Linked DNA regions of Homo sapiens: all the other regions are linked to region 2. Evidence: promoter capture Hi-C in human tissues and cell types (Jung and others, 2019). All regions are on one chromosome and are shown on one strand. The core of a region is centred on a gene start or on the middle of the fragment in contact, and the rest is flanking DNA. Distances in the headings are between cores, read along the strand shown. Region 1 overlaps WWC1 (WW and C2 domain containing 1). Region 2 holds the start of WWC1 (WW and C2 domain containing 1). Region 3 has its middle 8.3 kb from the start of RARS1. Region 4 overlaps WWC1 (WW and C2 domain containing 1).

Region 1 (5,750 bases), core at 331-2,830, 160 kb before region 2:
GGCATTTTCAGTGTATAGTTTGATGAGTTTTGGCCAATGTACTCACCTATGTAACCACCACTGTACTTGAGATGTAGAACATTCCATTCCCCACCAGAATTCTCTCCTACCTTTTCCCAGTTTAATCACCCACTAGGCAGCCATGATTAGCTGTTATTATAGATTAGATTTGACTTTTCTAGAGTTTCATGCAAATGGAATCAGACAATATATGCTGTTTTGTCTCTGACTTCTCTGTGTCTGCATAACATTTCTGAAGTTTATCCACAATGCTGTATGCATCAGCGGTTCATTCCTTTTTTTTTTTCCTTTTGAATCAGAGTCTCACTCTGTCACCCAGGCTGGAGTGCAGTGGGACCATCTTGGCTCACTGTAGCCTCCACCAGTGGGCTCAAGTGATCCTCCTGCCTCAGCCTCCTGAGTTGTTGGGACTACAGGTGTGTGCCACCACACCTGGCTAATTATCCTATTTTTTGTAGAGACAGAGTTTTGGTATGTTGCCCAGGCTGGTCTCAAACTACTGGGCTCAAGCGATCCACCCACCTTGGCCTCCCAAAGTGTTGGGATTATAGGCGTGAGCCACCGCGCCCAGACAGTTCACTCCTTTTTATCATTAATATTCCATTGGATGGCTATATTGCAACATGTTTAGATCTGTTCACCTGCCTTTAAATGCACCCAGGGTAGGGCTTCCAAACGTTGGAACGAGGCGGGTGGTTGAGGAAAAGGAGGAGGAAGATGAGGAAGAAGAGGAGGAGGAGGAGGAGGAGGAAGAGGGAGAGAAGGAGAGTTTAGTTGATGAACATTTGGATTACTTACATTTCCAAGCAAGTATGAATAAAGCTTCTTGTACATTCATGTACAAGTCTATGCATGAATATAGGTTTTCATTTCTGTTGGATATTGCTAGGGTTGCAAAACTAAAACACCACTTACTAGGTGGGTTAAACAACAGAAACTGATTTCTGGCAGTCCTGGAGGCTGGAAATCCATGCTCAAGGTGTCAGCAGGTTTGATTCACCTGAGGCCCCTTTCCCTGGCTAGCAGATGGCTGCCTTCTTGCAGCGTGCTCACACAGTCTGTCCTCTGTGCATGCGCATCCCTGGTGTCTGTGTGTCCAAATATCCTCGTATGAGGTCCCAGCCCAACTTCAATGGTCTCGTGTTAACCACCTCTTTAAAAGCCCTACCTCCAAATACAGTCACATTCTGAGGTACTAGGGGTTAGGGCTTCAATGTTTGAATTTTGGGGGGACACAAATCAGCCCCTAACAGATAATAGAATTACTGGGTCATACGGTAAGTATAAATTTACCCTTTTAAACACCAACAGGCCAGGCGTGGTAGCTCACGCCTGTAATCCCAGCACTTTGGGTGGCCAAGGTGGGCGGATCACCCCAGGTCAGGAGTTCAAGACCATCTTGGCCAATGTGGTAAAACCTTGTCTCTACTAAAAATACAAAAATTAGCCAGGCGTGGTGGTGGGCACCTGTAATCCCAGCTACTCAGGAGGCTGAGGCAGGACAATTGCTTGAACCCAAGAGGTGGAGCTTGCAGTGAGTCGAGAGAGTGCCACTGCACTACAGCCTGGGTGACAGACTGAGACTCCACCTCAAAAAAAAAAAAAAAAAAAAGACACCAACAAATGGCTTCTCCAAAGTGATTTTGCCATTTTAAGTTTCCCCTGAGCAATGTTCTAAGAGTTCTAGTTCCTCACTACACTTGGTGTTGTTTATCTTTATAGTTAGTCACTCTACTACTGGGTGTGTACTTGCATCTTGTTGGGTTTTAATTTGCATTTTCTTCTTTTTTCTTTCTTTGTTTTTAGAGACAGCATCTTGCTCTGTCGCCAAGGCTAAGGCTGGAGTGCCATGGTGTGATCATAGCTCACTGTCGCCTTGAACTCTTGGGCTCAGGTGATTGATTCTCCTGCCTCAGCCTCCCAAGTAGCTAGTACTACAGGCACGTGCCACCATGCCCGGCTAATTTAGTAAATCTTTTGCAGAGATGGGGTTTTGTTTCCCAGGCTGATCTTGAACTCCTGGCCTCAAGAAATCTTCCTGCCTCAGCTTCCCAAAGTGTGAACATTACTGGTGTAAGCCACTGAGCCTGGCCTAACTTGCATTTTCTTGTTGAGAAACTCTTCATGCATTTATGACCATCTTCCCAGGTGAAGTGTCTGTTACAATCTCCAGCCCCTTAAAAATCAGGTTTTTGGCCAGGCACAGTGACTCACGCCTATAATCCCAACAGTTTGGGAGGCCGAGGTGGGTGGATCACCTGAGGTCAGGAGTTCGAGACCAGCCTGACCAATATGATAAAACCGAGTTGCCTCTACTAAAAATACAAAAATTAGCCAGGTGTGGTGGCATGCACCTGTAATTCTAGCTACTCGGGAGGCTGAGACAGGAGAATCGCTTGAATCCGGGAGGTGGAGATTGCAGTGAGCCGAGATTGCAGTGAGCCGAGATCGCAGCCTGGGCAACAAGAGCAAAACTCTGTCTCAAAATAAATAAATAAATAAAATAAAAATAAAAATTGGGTTGTCTTATTATTGAGTTGTAAGAAATCTTAGTATATTTGCGCTATGAATCCTTTGTCTGGTATGTGGACTGCACGATTTTCTCTAAGTCTGTGGCTTGCCTTTTCATTTTCTCAGTGGTGTCTTCCGAAGATCATAAGTTTTTGATTATGATAAAGCCCAAGTTATTGATTTTTTTCTTTTATAGTTTGTACTTTTTATGTCCTAAGAAATCTTTGCCTACCTCAAAGTTGTGAATAGTTTCTTTCTTACACTTTCAGAACTTCTATAATTTCAGGTTTTATGTGTAGCTCTATAACCCATTTGAGATTAATTTTATTTTATTTTTTTGAGATGGAGTCTCGCTCTGTTGCCCAGGCTGGAGTGCAGTGGTGCGACCTCAGCTCACTGCAACCTCTGCCTCCCGGGTTCAAGCAATTCTCCCGCCTCAGCCTCCCGAGTAGCTGGGATTACAGGCACGTGCCGCCATGCCAAGCTGATTTTTGTATTTTTAATAGAGATGGTGTTTCACCATGTTGGCCAGGATGGTCTTGATCTCCTGACCTCATGATCCACCCACCTCGGCCTCCCAAAGTGCTGAAATTACAGGCGTGAGTCACCGTGCCCAGCCACAGATTAATTTTTATACATGATGTAAGTGTTCAAGTTTTTTTTTTCCATATGAATATCTAATTGTTCCAACACCATTTGCTGAAGGGACTTTTGGTGATAGTCCTTAAAACTTTCCATTTCCCTTGGACTCCAAGGTTGGAAGGATTTGGTGTGACAAATAGGCTGCATTTGTTAAGTAGTAATTTATCTCTATTCCCATCTTGACTTCTGAAAGACATACAGAACTGCCCGGCTTCTGATCAGCATGAGACAGTGTTATCATACTGAGCCAAAAGAATCCTAGCCAAAAGCAGAGAATCTGACATCCAGCTAGCTAGCTCGGCGAGAGTGTGGGGAAACATAAAATCTCCCTGAGGATTTTCCCAATGGGGAGAATGCATTTTGGATCTCTACTCGCAACTCTGCAATTAAAACCTCTTCTGTACTTAGATGAGGACTGCGGCTGTGGAGGGGCCTTGGCTCTCCTCCTTGGCCCCAGCAGCCTCTCTATCTACAAATAAAAGAGCTGTTGGCGGGTGCGGTGGCTCATGCCTGTAATCCCAGCACTTTGGGAGGCTGAGGCAGGTGGATCACCTGAGGTCGGGAGTTCGAGATCAGCCTGACCAACATGGAGAAAAACCCCATCTCTACTAAAAATACAAACGTAGCCAGGCGTGGTGGCACATGCCTGTAATCCCAGCCACTTGGCAGACTGAGACAGGAGAATCACTTGAACCCATGAGGTGGAGGTCACAGTGAGCCGAGATCGCACCATTGCACTCTAGCCTGGGCAACAAGAGTGAAACTGTCTCAAAAAAAAAAAAAAAAAAAAAAGAGCTGTTAAACATGTGAACACACAGGGAGACAGGGAGCCCCTCCACAAAGCCCTCTGTAGAAGCCACATTGACCAGTATTTATTGAGGGCTCAATAAGCTCCAGGTGCTACACCTCACAACAGTGCTCAAAGAGATGATCTCCATTTCCCAGATTCAAAAAGTGAGCGGCAGAGGCCTGAGGCCTTGTTCAATGTGGCAGGCTAGTTGTGGAGCCAGGATTGCAAAACAGGTTTGTCTAGATCCACTAAGTGCTCAACCATTACGGGAGTCTCTTCTTTTTGACTGTGAATCTGATCTCAATATTCCAAGATGAGAAAAAAAAACCACAAACCCAACTTAATTTTAATTGTAAAGAGAAAAATAATTAAAATCAACAATATCTTTTCACCTACTGGAGTGGCAAAGCGGAAAAAAATCTGGTAATATCAAGTGCTGGTGAAGGTACAGAAACAGGCATATCCCTGTGGGAAGTGAAAAGGAGAGCAGCCAATTTACATTCTGAAGGCCATTTAGCCTTATCTGTTAAAATAAAAAAATGTACATATGCTTAATTAAGTTACAGCAGTTTGATTAGATTGAGTGTCAGAGAGGCTGTAGGTTAGGGTACTCTTAATCATTGCTGGTGGGAGCATTTATTAATAAAATCTTATAGCTGGGTGCGGTGGCTCATGCCTGTAATCCCAGCACTTTGGGAGGTGGAGGTGGGCAGATCACGAGGTCAGGAGATCGAGACCATCCTGGCTAACACGGTGAAACCCCATCTCTACTAAAAAACACAAAAAATTAGCTGGGCATGGCGGCAGGTGCCTGTAGTCCCAGCTACCCAGGAGGATGAGGCATGAGAATGGCGTGAACCCAGGTGGCGGAGCTTGCAGTGAGCTGAGATCGTGCCACTGCACTCCAGCCTGGGTGACAGAACAAGACTCCGTCTCAAAAAAAAAAAAAAAAAAAATCTTATTTGAGAACTATTCTATGATGTCTATTAAAATATAAAAAACACACACCCTGCGATCCAGCAATGCCACTTCTCAGCATCTGCCCCAGACAAATACGAGTTCCCAAGGAGGCAAATACAAAGATTTTTCCCCATAGTATTGTTTGGTGTTATATTCTCCTGTATTTTCTAACACTCTTAGTTTTATTTTGCTTGTGGATCTTTTAAAAAAAAATCCAGTTTTCTGATTATATCATTTAAAGACATATAAAAACAAAATAAAAAGAGGGAGTACCAGTGACACGCCGGGTTTTGGGTGCCGAGGAAGGACTGTAAATTGGAACAGACGGACAGCCTTTTGGAGACCAGAACCCAAGACTCCAGAGATGAGCAGGCATGGCAAGGCCAGTTAACATCCCAGGACCAAGAGAGGCTTCCAGTCTTGGGGGAGGGGGCCGCAGATGGTTTGCCCCACTACAGCAGCTCTGGGATCCCCAGCCCCCTTTGTAAGACAGCGTCTGGGGGAAGTTTGAATGGCAGGGGGTGTGGAGACAGGGGCCAAAAAGGGAGAAGGGACAGAAGGCGGTTGCTAGGAGATGGCTTGAAAAGTCTCAGCACAAGCTTGGAATTTGGTGGAAACCACTGATCTTGTGCCAGGGTTTTGGGAGATAGGTCCTGGGCCTATTTCTGGCATCAGACCTTTGCCTGTGTGATCCGTAGTAGAGTGTGGCACAGCAGTGTGCCAAGCAGAAAGAGAGAGAGAGGCAGAGAAACAGAGAGGAAAGGAAAGAGAGAGGGAGATGGCCAGGGGTCAGTGGGGAGAAACAGACAGAGAGAGAGAAAGAAAG
Region 2 (5,212 bases), core at 1,913-4,412:
TAAAATACAAAAAATTGGCTGGATGTGGTGGCGTGCACCTGTAGTCCCAGCTACTCGGGAGGTTGAGGCAGGAGAATCGCTTGAACCCAGGAGGCAGACTTGCAGTGAGCCAAGATCGCACCACTGGACTCCAGCCTGGGCGACAGAGCGAGACTCTGTCTCCAAAAAACAAAAACAAATAAACAAAAAAACCAAAAGCAAACAAAAAAACCAATGACACAAGATGAAGAAGGTGAGCTGCTCACCTAAGTGCCACTATGTTTCTGCCGCCTCTCCATGGCTTGCCAATCTGCTTAAAAACAAAGGCTGGGCAGGTGAGGTGCTGTGGCCTTAGGCTGGCCACAGTACCTAGCTAAAATATACTAACCCTGGTTTTTTGTTTTTTTTGTTTGCCTATCTTTTTTGTTTCCCCTGTATGACAATAGATATAACTAGTTTCCCATTTGTGAAAATGGTACACATATTTTTAAAGTGAGTTGATCTAAAGTCAAGGAGTAAGTAAGCAATAGCACAGGTGGATATAGCAAAAAAAAATCATGGAGGTGGTCCATGTAACACTAAAATTTGGGAGATTGTGCTCCAGCCAATCAGTTCTTCATAGAAGCTACTTACTTACCCTTTTCCAAGGGTAAAGAATTACTGTTGAGAGGGGCCTCCTATTGCTGTATTAGAAGTCCCCAGATGCATGATTATCAGTGTTGGCAGGGGCGGTCCTTTCCCTCCAACAGGACGTCCACCTGCTAACAGCACACAGGCCTCCGTAAACTACAGGGACCTAAATTGGGGCAGGTCACATATGTTTGAACTTGTGTCTGTTCTGAGAAAAGGACAAGAGAAAAGGTGCTGCCAAGTTCACCAACACAGTAGCAGAGCTGGCAACTGACCCGAGTAAGGGTGGGGAAGCAGTGTGTCAGGGTGACAAGTTTGCAGGTTAGAACTTCAGAGCTGGTGAAGAACTGGTACGCAGAATGGCAGAAAAATCAAAATACTTGAGCAAATCACACCTCTGGGCTTCAAATTTTCTCTTATGTTTCAAATGGGAGTTGGGCGCTGATGTACGTCCCTTCCAAGTTTTAAGCATCCCAATATTCCCTTCCAAGCAAACTTTTTAAATTCAGGGAAATGGTGGGCTCCCCCATCTGACAAACAGGGAAACTGAGGCTCAGAGGTTGAAGCAGCTTGCCTAAGAGATGCTCTCTAGCACTAAATATTTACCTTCCAGATTACATTCATGAGACATTCAGCATGGTGCTGAGTGTAGAGGAGGCATCCAGGAAGCGCTGAATGAACGAATGAATGAATGAATGAAAGTAAGTGCTCCCAGAAACTACCGAGAATCTCAACTCTCATTTTCTTTCCGCTTATATTCTTTTTTTGACCCACATCTTGCTACATACACTTCTGGGACACCTCCACCCCCACCACACAAGATGAAGAGTCCAAGAAATTCACCTTGGTTGCTTTACAGGGACCTGACCCCCAAGGTCACAGACAAGGTTTAAAGTCCGCATTCCCCAAGACACTCTGCCCACAGACCGTGTCAACAACATCGTGGTCCGGGGACTCTAGGACATACATGGAGAGGGTGAATGTATGTGTGTGTGTGCAGCATGTGAGCAAAGAAATGCCAAACAACCAGGAGAAAGTCTGGAGAGGTAAGAGCCACACCGAGCTATCTCAGGCTCCATCTGCCTCTGCACATTATCTCAACCTACAGCGGCCTGGTACCCACCAAGGTCAGGTCCCGCTGGTGCAGGGCTGAGGAGCCTCGCCGCCCCCTTCCCCGATCAGGGAAGAAAGAGAGGAGAAAGAGGCGAGGGGCAAGGCTTTCCGGGAGGCCTCTCACCTCCATCTCCATCCTAACAGCTTCCAAGTTGCTGCCAGATTCCTGGATAACCAGTCTCCCTCATCTGCCCTCCCCCGCTTCTTCACTTCCTCCCCACCCTCGGGTTCCAGGGCCCCCTGGCTGCCCCTGTGCTGTTCTCAGCAGCTTCCAAGGCACCTGTCAAAAAGCACACCTCAGGTTGCCTTCCTCTGCGCCGAGTGCCCTCTCTCCAGTGGTCTCCCACGGAATCCTGGGGTCTTGACCACCCCCTCTAACCGGACACTTCCCCATCCCCATCCGCCCACCCCCCACGCTGGGTGGAAGCCTCCCCGGGAAGACCCGGCTTCACCCGGCTAGGTCGCTCCCCCAACCCCCGCCCCCGCCCGACCTCTCTTCCTAAAGGGGGCGGGCGGGGCTAGAGCTTAAGGTCAAAACTCCGGGCAGGTGCCGGCTGGGGCCTAAGTCCTCCAACTGGGGATGGCGGTGGGGCAGCCTGGGCCAGCTCCCCGGCAGGCGCCTCCTCTCGGTGGCCCACTGAGGCGGGAGCAGCGCTCCAGAAGGTTGGGGGGAGCAGGGGGTGGCGAACTGAAGAGAGCTCAAGAGGCACGCAGAGCTCCCCTGCCCCCTCCCAGTCCCGGCCGGCGGCTCCAGGGGCAGGTGGGGGCCCAGGCGGGGGTGTGGGGGCACGGAGGAGGGTTCCAGGGTCCTACCTGTCCCGCGGGTCGATCCAGCTGGTGGTGCGGTTCGTGTGGTCTATGTAGTAGACCTTGCCGTCGAAGTCGCGCGCCTCCTCCCAGCCCTCCGGCAGGGGCAGCTCCGGCCGGGGCATCTTCCCAAGCGCTGCCGGCGCTCCCCCATGCAGCTCCCGGCCGCAGCGGGGGCTCAGCGGCTCCAGCCGGCCGCTCTTAGCCCGGGCGGCCGCCGAGGCACCATGATCCGGGGGGTGGCGCCCGCAGATGGGGGGCCCTAGTAGGGGCCGGCCGGGGTGGCGCCGCTGTCCATGCGGCCCTGCAGCCCCGACCCGGCGCCGCCCGCTCCTCCCGCCGCCGGCCTCTCACGCTGCCATGTGCGTCCGCAGCGGCGCGGTGCGAGCCCGGGTGCGCGCCCAGCCGGCCGGGCAGAGCGAGCCGAGCGCCGCCGCCGCCGCCGTCTGCCCTCCTCCGCCGCGCGGCGCGCTGCGCCCTCCACGCCGCCGCTGCCGCTGCCGCCTCCCTCCTCCCTGCAGCCGGGTGCCGTCCCTCCTCTCCGCTCCACCGCTCTGAGCTCGCCGGGTTTGTGACTTCTGCCTCCGCCAGGTGCGGCTCGGGCGGTGCAGGTAACCGCGCTGCCCCGGAAACGGGAGGCGGAGCGCCGGGCGCCTGGGTTCCCGGGTCCCCTCCCCGCGCGCAGCGCCTCGAGGGCGGGTCCTAGGGCCCGAGACGCGCCCCCTCGTGGGACAGTCCCAGCCGCCGGCCACCCTTACGCTGCCCCTGCCAGGGGAAGGAGAGACCGCCCCTCACCTGCGTCCCAGACCTAGGGGGCTGGGCCAAAAACCGCTCTGCCTGTACTTAAAACGCTCCTGTCTCTCTCCACCCGGAGTAGCCAGGCTCTCGGCACAGGTGGCCCCAAATCTTAAAAACTCCCTGCTTTTCTGTGGTGTAGAATCAGGAGTCAGGCAAGAAGTGGTTAAATGGAAACATTCTTGCGAATTGGGAAACATAAGTTTTCCAGGATCTCTGGTCCCTTCCCCCAACACAGGCACCATCTGTCTCCTTCTATTCAACTCTCCCTACGACGTTTCGCCCACCCTCCACCCTTCCCCACCATTTGGAAATGTAGCTGGCTCCCCTCAGGGTCCCTAAAATTAGGAGCGCTGTGGATCCGCTTTCCTGGGAGGACTTCCAGAGGGTGTCAGGGAAAACACTTTGTAAAAGTAATAGTAATGCCATTGTTATTGTTAGCTAAATTGAGGACTTACTTGTGACAGGCTGTGGCTAGCAGCTTCACAGGCTTTCTTTCCTGTGATACTTTGAGGTAGGTGTGTTATGGATTTGGGAGAAGTGGGGCTATGAAAAAGAAGAAAGTAAGCAAAGCAAAATTCCATCTTGAAAAATGTTCAAGAGAATAAAACAATCAGAGACACAATGTTTCTTGAGAAATTAAAAATGTAGAATTAGTGGGTGCGGTGGCTCACGCCTGTAATCCCAGCACTTTGGGAGGGTGAGGCAGACAGATTACCTGAGGTCAGGATTTCAGACCAGCCTGGCCAACATAGTGAACCCCATCTCTACTAAAAAATAATAATAATAAATTAGCTGGGCGTGGTGGTGCACGCCCGTAGTCCCAGCTACTCGGGAGGCTGAGGCATGAGAATCACTTCAACCTGGGAGGTGGAGGTTGCAGTGAGCCAAGATCGCACCACTGCACTCCAGCCTGGGCAACAAAGCGAGACTCTGTCTCAAATAAATAAATAAATAAATTTAAAATGTAGCATTAAATACAAAAAGCAAGCTAGCATGATTGAGTGAATGATCAACTGGCTGTTCACTTCCCCATCTCCTCTTACATCTGTGTACTGAGTGGGAATTTAACCCTTTTTTGCCCTCGGCATATGGCAGGAAGCTGGACTGGTCGAATGAAGCCCAGTTGGGTGTCTTCTCTTGCCTGAGCCCCACGGTCTTCCAGAAGAACCAGCACCCTGTGCTGTATGGACCAGGGTGTTGCTGAGCCAGAGAGGGAATCATGTTTGTGGTCTCATCTCCTCTTGACAGAAAAGACCCACCAGAGTGAGCCTCGCCTCCAAATGCCTTCTTCATAGTTAATTCCTTCCCTGAGGCCAGGCCTCGGGGCTCAGTGCTTGGCCCTCCTTCATTCCATAAATACCAGGCACCAGAGTCCAGGGACACCAGCCTCAGACTGGCCCTCAACACCCAAAAGTTGGAATTCCCCATTCCTTTATGGGGGAATTCCCACAGCCCTCTACACTTCCTCTGTTTGGGTCAAGCCTTTACTACATAAAAACCCACTATTGATTAGAGCAGTAGCCCCAAAGCAAAGCCAACCTGGTGCTAGGTTCTTTGAATACATGATCTCAATCTTCATAACAACCCTCTGGCATAGGAAAGTCTATTTATTATACCCATTTTACAGATGAGGCTCCAAGATGCTTTGTTGTTGGCCTGGGATACAGAGCTCATAAGACAGACTAGGTCTGACTCTAGTGCAGTGTTCTCAGTTATTAACCTATACTTTCTTTTTTTCTTTTTTTGAGATGGAGTCTCCCCCCATCCCCCAGGCTGGAGTGCAGTGGCATGATCTCGGCTCACTACAACCTCTGCCTCCCAGATTCAAGCAATTCTCCTGCCTCAGCTTCCAGAGTAGCTGGGATTACAGGCCTGCGCCACCACG
Region 3 (5,250 bases), core at 782-3,281, 190 kb before region 2:
GTGTTCTTTTTTTAATCCTTTTTTTTTTTTTTAATTATTGTTTTGAGATGGAGTCTCGCTCTGTCACCCAGGCTGGAGTGCAGTAGCGCCATCTTGGCTCACTCCAACCTCCACCTCCCTGGTTCAAGTGATTCTCCTGCCTCAGCCTCCTGAGTAGTTGGGATTACAGGCATGCACCACCATGCCCGGCTCATTTTTTGTAATTTTAGTAGAGACAGGGTTTCGCTATGTTGGCCAGACTGGTCTTGAACTCCTGACCTCAGGTGATCCACCCGCCTCAGCTTCCCAAAGTGCTGGGATTACAGGCGTGAGCCACTTCACCTGGCCCTATTTTTTATCTTTCATTCCCTAATTTTACTGTACCTTTTCTATGTTTAGAAACACAAATACGTCCATTGCATTACAGTTGGCATTACAGTATTCAGGACAGTAATGTGCCATACAGGTTTGGAGCCTAGGAGCAATAGGCTACACCATATAGCCTGTGTGTGGAGTAGGCTCTACCATCCAGGTTTGTGCAAGTACACTCTCTGATGCTCACACAACAAAATTGCCTAATAGCACATTTCTCAGAATCTGTCCCCATCGTTAAGTGATACATTACCGCATTTGAAAAAAAAAAGGCCGGGCGCGGTGGCTCACGCCTGTAATCCTAGTACTCTGGAAGGCCGAGGCGGGAGGATCACGAGGTCAGGAGATCGAGACCATCCTGGCTAACACGGTGAAACCTGTCTCTAGTAAAAATACAAAAAATTAGCCGGGCGTGGTGGTGGGTGCCTGTAGTCCCAGCTACTCAGGAAGCTGAGGCAGGAGAATGGCGTGAATCCGGGAGGTGGAGGTTGCTGTGAGCCGAGATCGTGCCACTGCACTCCAGCCTGGGTGACAGAGCAAGACTCTGTCTCAAAAAAAAAAAAAAAAAAGGAGGGGGGGATTGGGTACTGGCCCAGATGCAGAGATTGGCAAAAGTGAGAGCATATAAGAATTTGTAAGTTGTTGGGGCTCGGAAACCGATACCCCAAAATATGGTGCTTTGACATACTGAAGCGAAGAACACTCAAGGTTTCTCTGACCTTCTCCCTCACCCCATCTTTCCCAAAGAAGTTACAGTTTCTTTATCTGCCTGAGATCCAGACACACTAAGTAAGGCACATCAAGGACGACTCTTTTTTCTTCCCTTTCCTGTAAAACCAACAGTGTAGCCACACTTGAACAGACCTTTTCACAAGATAATGTACACGTTAATATCTGTTCCCTAATCCATCCATTCTCCCTAAAAATCCCCTCAACAGAACTCCTCTTCCCCCACTCCCATAATCTGTTTTGCCAGGATGACATATACACTTAGGCACCACCTTGCGGGGTGAGCAATTAATTACTCAGTGGTTGCACTGAGTAATACACAGCAAATTTGTAAATACCCTGTGTATATACCCTGTGAATATACAGCAAATAAACTTGTATGCCTTTTTACCCACTAATCTGCCTTTTGCAAGTTGATTTTCCAGTGAAACTTCAGGAGGCCAAGGGGAAAGCTTTCCCTTTCCCTTTACCCACGTAAAGTCAAGGCAGGGGTTTTTTATTTTATTCTATGCACAATGGGAACCATTAGAGGGTTTGGATGAGTAGATGGGTGGTGAATTTTTGTTGGGTGGTGTTGGCTGGGCACGGTGGCTCACGCCTGTAATCCCAGCACTTTGGGAGGCTGAGGCGAGCGGATCACGAGGTCAGGAGGTCGAGACCATCCTGGCTAACACGGTGAAACCCCGTCTCTACTAAAAATACAAAAAATTAGCCGGGCGTGATGGCGGGCGCCTGTAGTCCCAGCTACTTGGGAGGCTGAGGCAGGAGAATGGCGTGAACCCGGGAGGCGGAGCTTGCAGTGAGCTGAGATTGCTCCACTGCACTCCAGCCTGGGTGACAGAGCGAGACTGCGTCTTAAAAAAAAAAGAAGGGTGGTGTTATGGGCTGAAATGTATTCCCCCAAAGTTCTTAAAGTCCTAACGCCCAATATCTCAGAATGTGACTATTTGGAAATAGGGTCTTTAAAGAAGTAATAAGTTAAAATGAGGTCAAGAGGGCCAGGCAAAGTGGCTCATTCCTATAATCCCAGCACTTTGGGAGGCCAAAGTGGGCAGATCAACTGAGGTCAAGAGTTTGAGACCAGTCTGGTCAACATGGCAAAACCCCATCTCTACTAAAAATACAAAAATTAGCTGGGTGTGGTGGCATGCACCTGTAATCCCATCTACTCAGGAGGCTAAGGCAGGAGAATCACTTGAACCTGGGAGGCAGAGGTTGTGGCGAGCTGAGATCGCGCCACTGCACTCCAGCCTGGGTGATGGAGAGAGGCTCCATCTCAAAAAAAAAAAAAAAAAAAAAGAGGTCATGAGGATGGGCCCTAACTCAACATGACTGGTGTCCTCATAAGAGGAGATTAGGACGCAGATACAGACACACACAGAGGTAAGACCATGTGAACACACAGGGAGAAAGTGGCCAAGGAAAGAGTCCTCTGAAGACACTGACCCTACCTGCCAGGACCTTGATCTCAGAATTCCAAGAAGTTCAGGTCAGCAATGATAAATCAAAATGGTAGCAGAAAAAAAAATGGATAGATTTATGATATATTTTAGAGACAGAATTGGCAGAACTTGCTGGTGGATTAGGAGTCTAAAAATGAGGACATGGGTTAAGAGTGTCAAGTGGCTGGGCATGGTGGGTCACGCCTGTAATCCCAGCACTTTGGGAGGCAGAGGTGGGCAAATCATGAGGTCAGAAGTTCGAGACCAGCCTGGCCAACATGGTGAAATCCCATCTCTACCAAAAATACAAAAATTAGCCGGGAGTGGTGGCGGGTACCTGTAATCCCAGCTGCTCAGGAGGCTGAGGCAGGAGAATCACTTGAACCCAGAGGTGGAGGTTGCAGTGGGCTGAGATCGCACCACTGCACGCCAGCCTGGGCAACAGAGTGAGACTGTCTTAAAAAAAAAAAAAAAGAGTCAAGAGAAGAATGATGAGGTTCATAAATTTGGAGAGGACAGCTTTATTTCACATAAAGAGTTGCATGCTGCAGGTGGCCACTCTGACAGGCTGGAAAGTGTAGCCTCCAGCCAGTAGCTGAAAACATGCACTTTGAGGGAAGGGCAGAGGAAAAAAGAATGTGTGCTGAGCAGGTGGCCAAATATATATATTTAATAAGCTGTAGGAGGGGTCACTAATATCTATGAAAGGAGAAACGTGTGCCTGCGCAACTGAGCTTCATGCCCCTTCATGGGACCCCTGTACAAAACATGGTGTCCTTACCATGATCTGAGGGTGGAGCTTCTGGGCCTCTGATGTCAAAAGGCGAAGGGGAGGATATGAAAACCCTCCCTGCACATCCGTTGTAAACTGGCCAGAACCATTCAGTGGTGGGTGGCCTCTTATCAGGAAGGAATGCATGTTGGTTGTTGTGGTGAAATGGCAAAAGGGAGGGGGAGTTGGTGGAAATCAGCGGTGAAGCCAGGCTTTCCAAAGGTCTGGTTTCTGTTTAGATTTTAGGAAAGAATGCCTACTGGAAGCTAGGGAGGGCGGGGGTATAAGGAGGTGTGTCCCACCTCCAGATGCCGTCCCGGGCTCTCCTTGGCCAACAGGATAGGACATCCATTCAGTCCGTCATGGGGCTTAGGATTTTGGTTTTACTTCTCAAGAGAAAATGAACTGACTAGGAAGAAATGAAAAAAGCTATGGGGAGGGAAAGAATGACTGGAACCTTAAATTTTCCTTCTAGTGGTAAAGTTTTAATGACCCAGCTCTGATCACACACTACTTGTTTCCATAGGGAATAATGTTGATTTCCCCATCAATCTGTAAATGCTGTTTACTAGTTTTTAACTTTCTAAATCAACTCACAGCAGAGGAAGCTTTAGGATTACATGATTACAGAGCAGTGCGTAAATGTGATACCCTTTTTTAAACTATATAAAAATAATAATGTAACTAAGAAAAATTAGAAGTTGTGGCTGGGAAGGAGAAAGGGTAAGTATGTGCCATAATGTCCTCATCTTTATGGTGATGAGTGGAGAGGTCTTACTGAAGATGATGAATAAAAATAATACAGGCCATTTTTATTTTATTTTATTTATTTTTGAGACAGAGTCTCACTCTATCGCCCAGAGGTGGAGTGCAGTGGCACAATCTTGGTTCACTGCAACCTCCGCCTCCCAGGTTCAAGCAATTCTCCTGCCTCAGCTTCCCAAGTAGCTGGAACCACAGGCCCACACCACCCCGCCTGGCTAATTTTTGTATTTTTAGTAGAGAAGGGGTTTCACCATATTGGCCAGGCTGGTCTCAAACTCCTGACCTCAGGTGATCCACCTGCCTTGGCCTCCCAAAGTGCTAGGATCACAGGCATGAGCCACCGTGCCTGGCCTACTGAGCATTATTTTATTTTTAAATTTTATTTATTTATTTTTTTAGAGACAGAGTCTCGCTCTGTCACCCAGGCTGGAGTGCAGCGGCATGATCTCGGCTCACTGCAACCTCTGCCTCATGGGTTCAAGCAATTCTCCTGCCTCAGCCAAACGAGTAGCTGGGACTACAGGCGCATGCCGCCACACCCGGCTAATTTCTTCTGTATTTTAGTAGAGACAGGGGTTTCACTGTGTTGCCCAGGTTGGTCTTGAACTCCTGAGCTCAGGCAACCTGCCCGCCTCGACCTTCCAAAGTGCTAGGATTACGGGAGTGAGTCACTGCACCTGGCCCAGACCATTGTTAAAAAGTGGAAACCACCAGATAAACTACTGTGAGTGGTAGATTGCAGAGGGTGGGGGTGTCTTTTATTGTATATCTCATACCCTTCTACAGAATTGTGAGAATTTTTTTTTTTTACTGTATTGCCAAAGGATGAATTATAGCCAATTTAAAGATCTCAGTTGGCTTTATTGCAATTCTACAATTGGGCAATGCTTCGGTCCATGAAATAGAATCAGTGTTCCAAAGCGCTGAGCAGAATAGGCTGGCTTCATAGAGAAGGCCTGAAGGAAGCAGAAGCTAAGAACAGGATGTATTAGTCCTTTCAAAGTTACTTTTCTCATAAGATAGGGACATAATAGAATAATAGAAAAATAACTGCGTAGTTAACGACAGTTTCCTTCAGGCTACCTTTTTGCCTGTAAGGATTAAGGCAGAGGGAACTTCTTCATGACTGAAGGACTGAAGGCTTCAAAGGACCTGTCTGGGAAATTGGGTGTTCTCTCTCTCCCGATTTCC
Region 4 (5,807 bases), core at 2,592-5,091, 140 kb before region 2:
GCTTGAGGTCAGAAGTTTGAGACCAGCGTGGCCAACATGGGGAAACCCCATCTCTAATAAAAATACAAAAATTAGCCAGGTGTGGTGGCGCGTGCCTATAGTCCCAGCTACTTGGGAGGCTGAGGCAGGAGAATGGTTTGGACCCGGGAAGCGGAGGTTGCAGTGAGCCAAGATCACGCCATTGCCCTTCAGTCTGGGCAACAGACTCTGTCTCAAAAATAAAAAAAAAGAAAAAAGAAAGATGAGGGCCAAAGTCCACATGGATTGGGTTACAGAGAGGAAGGGAACACCTCTTTCAAGTTTTTCTATAAAGAAAGGGAAAGAAACAATGTAGTAGTTGGAAGTGGAAATGGGGTGAAAAAAGTTTTAGGTCGGGTGTGGTGGCTCACGCCTGTAAACCCCAGCCCTTTGAGAGGCTGAGGCGGGAGGACTGCCTGAGCCCAGGAGTTCAAGACCAGCCTGGGCAACATAGTGAGACCCCATCTCTACAAAAAATACAAAAATTAGCCGGCCATGGTGGCATGTGCCTGTAGTCCCAGCTATGGGAGAGGCTGAAGTGGGAGGATCACTTGAGCCCAGAAGGTCAAGGCTGCTGTGAGCTGAGTTCACAGCACTGCACTCCAGCCTGGGCAACAAAGCAAGATCCTCTGTCAAAAAAAATTTTTTTGTTTTGTTTTGAGCATGGGAGAAATAACAGCATGATGATATACTGATAGGCTGGATCCAGTGGAGGAGGGAAAATTGAAGATAGAGGAAAGAGCGGAATGGCTGCTGGAGTAATGTCCTTGCGAGAAAATGGGGGTGGTGGCCTCAGACAGGAGTGCAGAAGGCCCACCCTCAGAAGCCAGGGAAATGGCAGAACCTACAAGAACAGCCAGATATGGTGTGGGGGCCCTCTTCTGAGTCTGTCCTCTCTTCTCTCCCTGAGAGAAGTATGAATTAGTCATTGTGATGAGTGGGTGAGTAAATGGTCCAGGGAGATACAGTATAATTTCTGGGCAGCATTGAGGGCTCATGGGAAGTGAGTGATCACCATTTCCAAATGATACCATACAGCGTGGTTGTGTGCATTTTTTTTTCCAGTTGCTCAGTTGGAGAGGAGGGGGTGGAGAGTTCACTTTGACAGGGCTGGGTTTTGCCAAGTTAGTATGCCAAAGTGAGAGGAGGCAAGGGAACGGTTGTAATGGTGAACCATGGGACGTCAGTGGGGCCTGAGAAGCAGGCTAGCTCGAGAGAGCCCGGGCTGGGTGGCATTGAGCTCAGCAGTAGAGCAGTGGGCAACTAGGCTCCCTGTGATGCCATGCAGGGCATTTGGTGGAACTGTTGCCTGCGATATTGGGAAGGTGGGCTGTGTATTCCTCCAAACCTGTAATCTGGGTCTGGGGACATGAGAGACACTCATAGTAACCCCCTGAGAAGTAGCATGGTGAGATGGCTACACATAAGGAAGCTGGAGTCTCTGTTCAAATCCAGGCTTTGCCATTTTCTCCTTGGATGACCTGGCAGCTTACTTAGCCTTTCTGGGCCTTGATCCCTTATCTTCCTGGGGCCATCACGAAGATTAAATGAGATACTGCACATGAAGTTCTTAGCCCACTGGTAGACACATAGACTCAACTCAGTACAGATGCTGTTGCTGCCTGGCTGAAAACAGACTGGGGATTCCACACATCCTGCTGTCCGGAGTCTCTGCGTGGGAGAGGACAGGCCTTTTTCCTCCCATCTCACTTCCTCTCCTCCTCCAGCCACCAGAATACGACAGCCTGACACTCCATGTCCCCACCGTATATGGGAAAGGAGGTTTCCCATTGGCCGCAGGCAGAGACAAGCCACAGTGAGATGAGCGCTTTGGCTGCTGCCATGGCAACCAGCAATGACCAGACTTCAATTAGGAAGGAGGAATAAAAGGCATCCAATTAGGAGAAGAAAATAGGATTGAGCCTCTTCTCGCTTAGGAATGCCCAGGGCCAAGGGAATGCTTCGCTGGAGGAGCCCAGGCTTGCCAACCCCTTCAAGTCACCACCCCCATCTCTGGGCTCCAGGGAGCCCTGTGCTGGCAAAGAGACAACACAGAGGCGCTGACGTGTGTGGACTTCAGAGGGAGACCTGCTGGGGTTCAAATACGGCTTCTGCCACTTTCCTAACTGTGACAGGAAAGGTCTTTCACCTCTTTGTGCCTCAGTTTCTCCACTGGAATACGCTACCTATTTTGCAAGGTTGGAGTGAGGATCAATAGAGATAATGGGCTGGGGTGGTGGCTCACACCTGTAATCCCAGAACTTTGGGAGGTGGAGACAGGCGGATCACTTGAGGTCAGGAGTTCAAGATCAGCCTGGCCAACATGGCAAAACCCCGCCTCTACTAAAAATACAAAAATTAGCCGGGTGTGGTGGTGGGCGCTTGTAGTCCCAGCTACTCTGGAGTCTAAGGCAGGAGAATTGCTTGAATCTAGGAGGTGAAGGTTTCAGTGAGCCAAGATCACGCCACTGCACTCCAGAGACTGAGAGCAGGACTCAGTCTAAAATAAAAAAAACAGATAATGCATGTAAAGAGCTTAACTCAGTGCCTGCCATATAAACTGCAACCTACTGGTATTAACTACTGCATTATTGTCAGTAACAACATCAATAGCAGTGATGCTGTGTTGTACCCAGCTAAGAAGGAGAGATGGGAACCGATATCCAGTGAGCACAAACTGCAAACACTTTGCTGCTCTACATTCTTGCTACCCAAAGTGTGATCCAGGAACCAGCAGCATTGGCCTCACCTGGGAGCTTATTAGAAATGCAGAATCTCAGGTTCTGCTCCAGACTTGCTGAATCAGAATCTGCATTTAGCCAGAGCTCCAGGTAACTTGTGTGCATGGCACAGTTTGAAGCGCTGCTTCAGCGCCTTAGTTAGTCTTCAGAGAACCACCTCCAGGAAGGCAGTATGAGCCAGATTTTACAGATAAGGGAACTGAGACTAAGAATTGAAGACTGTGAGGAGACACAGCTGGAAGGGCAAGGCTGGTGACAGCCCCAGGCCACAATCCAAGGATGTGGCCCCACAATGCCATGATAGAGAAGGGTTTTATAGCGCATGCAGATCAAGGCAAGGATGGAGAGCAAAGAGATTCCCTTCTCTGGGCAAAGGTCTGTGATTTACAGCAGGAGAAAGGGGCGAGCCCTCCAAGAAGGCAGTGAGAGGCTCTACATTCCAGCTTCCAGAAATGGAGGCAGGAGAGGCTCGGAGAGGTGTATACATCTTGTTTTTCCCCTTTGCACATACCCCACATTTTCCTCCATCACTTCAACCCATCCATTTCCAACACGGCCCTCCTCACAGTTTGTTTACATCTTAGCCATCAATGCTGGCACCTTGTCTGTTTGGTTCCCCATTGAATCCCCAGCCCCAGACACAGGGGTGGGGACACAACAAGCTCCCAGTACAGATCTGAGCATGAGTGGAGCGACCTTCTAGGTATAATGCCCACACTTGGGCTCCTTTGTGCCCACAGTTGAGTTATCATTAAAATATTCTAACACTAAATGGCATCAGGGTTAACAAAGCCCTTTACTTCTTCTAATTCACTTGTACATCACAAGCCCGAGTTAGCTATTATATAAATCCCCCTTCTACAGATGGGAAAGCTGAGTATCTGTCTGCACTTGGGTCTGCCTGTCTCTTAGGACAAAATGTACTTGGGCTACTTCATCCCCAGTCCTGACTCCTGCCAATGCAGTGAGAGATGGAAGCCGGAGAAGGTCAGTTTCAGGGAGGAGGCTGGCAATGGCCCCACTAAACGAGAACCCACTGTGGATCAGACACTTGAATAGGTGTTTTACGGGTGCTATCTCAATCCTTATAAAGATTCTTCCAGTGGGCATGATGGAGGCATTATCATTTGCATTTTAGGGATAAGAAAAATGAGGATCAGAGATGTTAAGTACCTTGCCCAAGGTCATCCAGCTATACAGCAAGTGGTAAAGGTGGGATGTGAATGCCTATGTGTTTGCTTTCATTACTCTGTGCTTTTTTTTTTTTTTTTTTTGACACAGGGTTCTGCTGTTGCCCAGGCCAGAATGCTGCGGCATGATCAGCTCATTGCAGCTCAAGGGATCCTCCCATCTCAACCTCCAGAGTAGCTAGGACTACAAGCATGCACCACTATGCCTGGCTAATTTTATTTTTTGTAGAGATGGGGTCTTGCTGTGTTGCCCAGGCTGCTTTCGAACTCCTGCACTTGAGTGATCCTCTGGCCTTGGCCTCCCAAAGGGTTGGGATTACAGATATAAGCCACCACACAGCCATAGTCTGTGCTTCTTATCTAATCTCTCATGCTGTATAGTAAAGCTGCAGTATGTGGCTTTTTCCAGGTTCTGGCAGTTTTAAAAGGCACTTTCAGGTCCATTACTCTTCCTCTTGTGAAAGAGCTCCTTCCCTCCCACCCTAAGTCTGAGAACAACATTCACCTGTGGAAGCCTCGCTGCCTAGAATCCAAGATGAGCCTGATTGATAGCACAACCTGCGTCTCCTTCGAACCTTCTTCCTGAAGCTCAGGGTAGACCAATCCCCATAAACACAGAAGGCCGGTCAGCCAGCCAGCCAGCCAGCCAGCCAGCCAGCCAGCCAGCCAGCCAGACACGGCCCTTACCAGGCACTCTTCCAGATGGCTCCTGTCGGTGGTACAGACATCGACTCTTAAGGTCTTCTGGTGAAGGGCTGGATAGGACATGGATACCCAGAACACCTCATTGAACACTAGAGTGTCTGAGGCGTCCAGAGGCCGGGTCCGGAACAGGCAGGTTGTGCTTTCAGAGCAAGGAAGGACAGCCACGCGGATATTCCTAGAGGGAGACAGAACCGCAGGAAATCTTGGGTCAGCCCATGTCTGGGGCTAAAATGTTGGACTAAACAGCTGCTGAAATCCCTAAGCAAACAACAGTGGATGAGAGTTTGTAGAAGTGAGGAATCTGGGGAATCAGGCCCCTATACACTGGAAGGAACTTTGACAAATCGAACAAAATTCCAGATGCATTTGTCCTTTGGTCCAGACCCTTCACTTCTAGGCATTATCCCACAGATGCCCCTGCATGAGTACCAGTGAGCTATGGAGGAGGCTATTCAGCCTGGCACTGTCTGTGTGGGCAGAAGACTGAAATTGACCCAAGCATCCCATCTTGTCTTCCTTCCGTTTTGTCCGCCTTCCTGCCCTTTCTTCTTCCCACATGTGCCACCCTCACAGGCTGGCTGAGTGTAGACCACAGACACATAAGCTTCTGTTGCCACCCTCCAGGCCTTACGATCAGAGAAAACTTGGAGGCAGATGAGTGCAATAAAGGATAAACCCATCTACCATGGGAGGAGCCCACAGGCAGACAGAGCAGGTGTTTGCATCCTACCAGCATCAAGGTAACACGCAGTCACACCCCTCCAAGAGAAGCAGTGACTGGTGTTGACTCTTGGAAACAGAAGACCTATCTCTCTCTGCAAGAAACACTTGAGCTTAGGAGAAGATAAAACAGACTGTGACCATTCTTCTCCATGAGGCTCAAAGTCCAGGAGGGTAGGGCCCAGGAAGGATCTGCTCACCACCCCATTCCTAGAGCTGGCATGCAGCAGGTGCTCAGCACGTAATGGGGCAGGAATTCACACAGTCATCTAGAGAGTGCTTGTCTTTACAGTTGGTGTGCTTGCCGTTGTGCCTGTATTCACATGCACAGCACCGACATTCAGCATCACAGTCATATGCAGTACAAACCCACAGTGCCTTGACAAGGCCCATAACTGGATCAGGACAGGGCAGAAAAGTGACCCCCAGGGGT

Evidence for each region. The method cuts DNA at HindIII sites, captures the fragments that hold promoters and counts their contacts. A contact is called where the count stands out against the background at its distance.
Region 1: a contact is called between a fragment that was not itself captured here and the fragment with the promoter of WWC1 in region 2, in 2 of the 25 tissues and cell types used here (H1 embryonic stem cells and bladder).
Region 3: a contact is called between a fragment that was not itself captured here and the fragment with the promoter of WWC1 in region 2, in 1 of the 25 tissues and cell types used here (stomach).
Region 4: a fragment that was not itself captured here is called in contact with the fragment with the promoter of WWC1 in region 2 in 2 of the 25 tissues and cell types used here (IMR-90 fibroblasts and stomach).

What each region holds. Positions count from the first base shown.
Region 1 is chr5:168,447,787-168,453,536 of GRCh38, reverse strand. The region is part of intron 17 of WWC1 (WW and C2 domain containing 1); the gene reads right to left. Among named protein-coding and RNA genes, the nearest start is that of RARS1, 36 kb to the left of the region's middle. The HindIII fragment of the contact is 3,206 bases long and covers 1-3,183 here.
Region 2 is chr5:168,289,595-168,294,806 of GRCh38, reverse strand. It overlaps WWC1 (WW and C2 domain containing 1), which reads right to left and starts at 3,162. Exons shown (of 23, transcript NM_015238.3): 1 at 2,536-3,162. The coding sequence starts at 2,654. RefSeq lists silencers at 2,350-2,769, 2,870-3,389 and an enhancer at 4,534-4,613. The HindIII fragment of the contact is 18,450 bases long and covers 1-5,212 here.
Region 3 is chr5:168,475,497-168,480,746 of GRCh38, reverse strand. No RefSeq gene overlaps it. Among named protein-coding and RNA genes, the nearest start is that of RARS1, 8.3 kb to the left of the region's middle. The HindIII fragment of the contact is 6,213 bases long and covers 1-5,137 here.
Region 4 is chr5:168,430,274-168,436,080 of GRCh38, reverse strand. It overlaps WWC1 (WW and C2 domain containing 1), which reads right to left. Exons shown (of 23, transcript NM_015238.3): 15 at 4,637-4,829. Among named protein-coding and RNA genes, the nearest start is that of RARS1, 53 kb to the left of the region's middle. The HindIII fragment of the contact is 9,210 bases long and covers 1-5,807 here.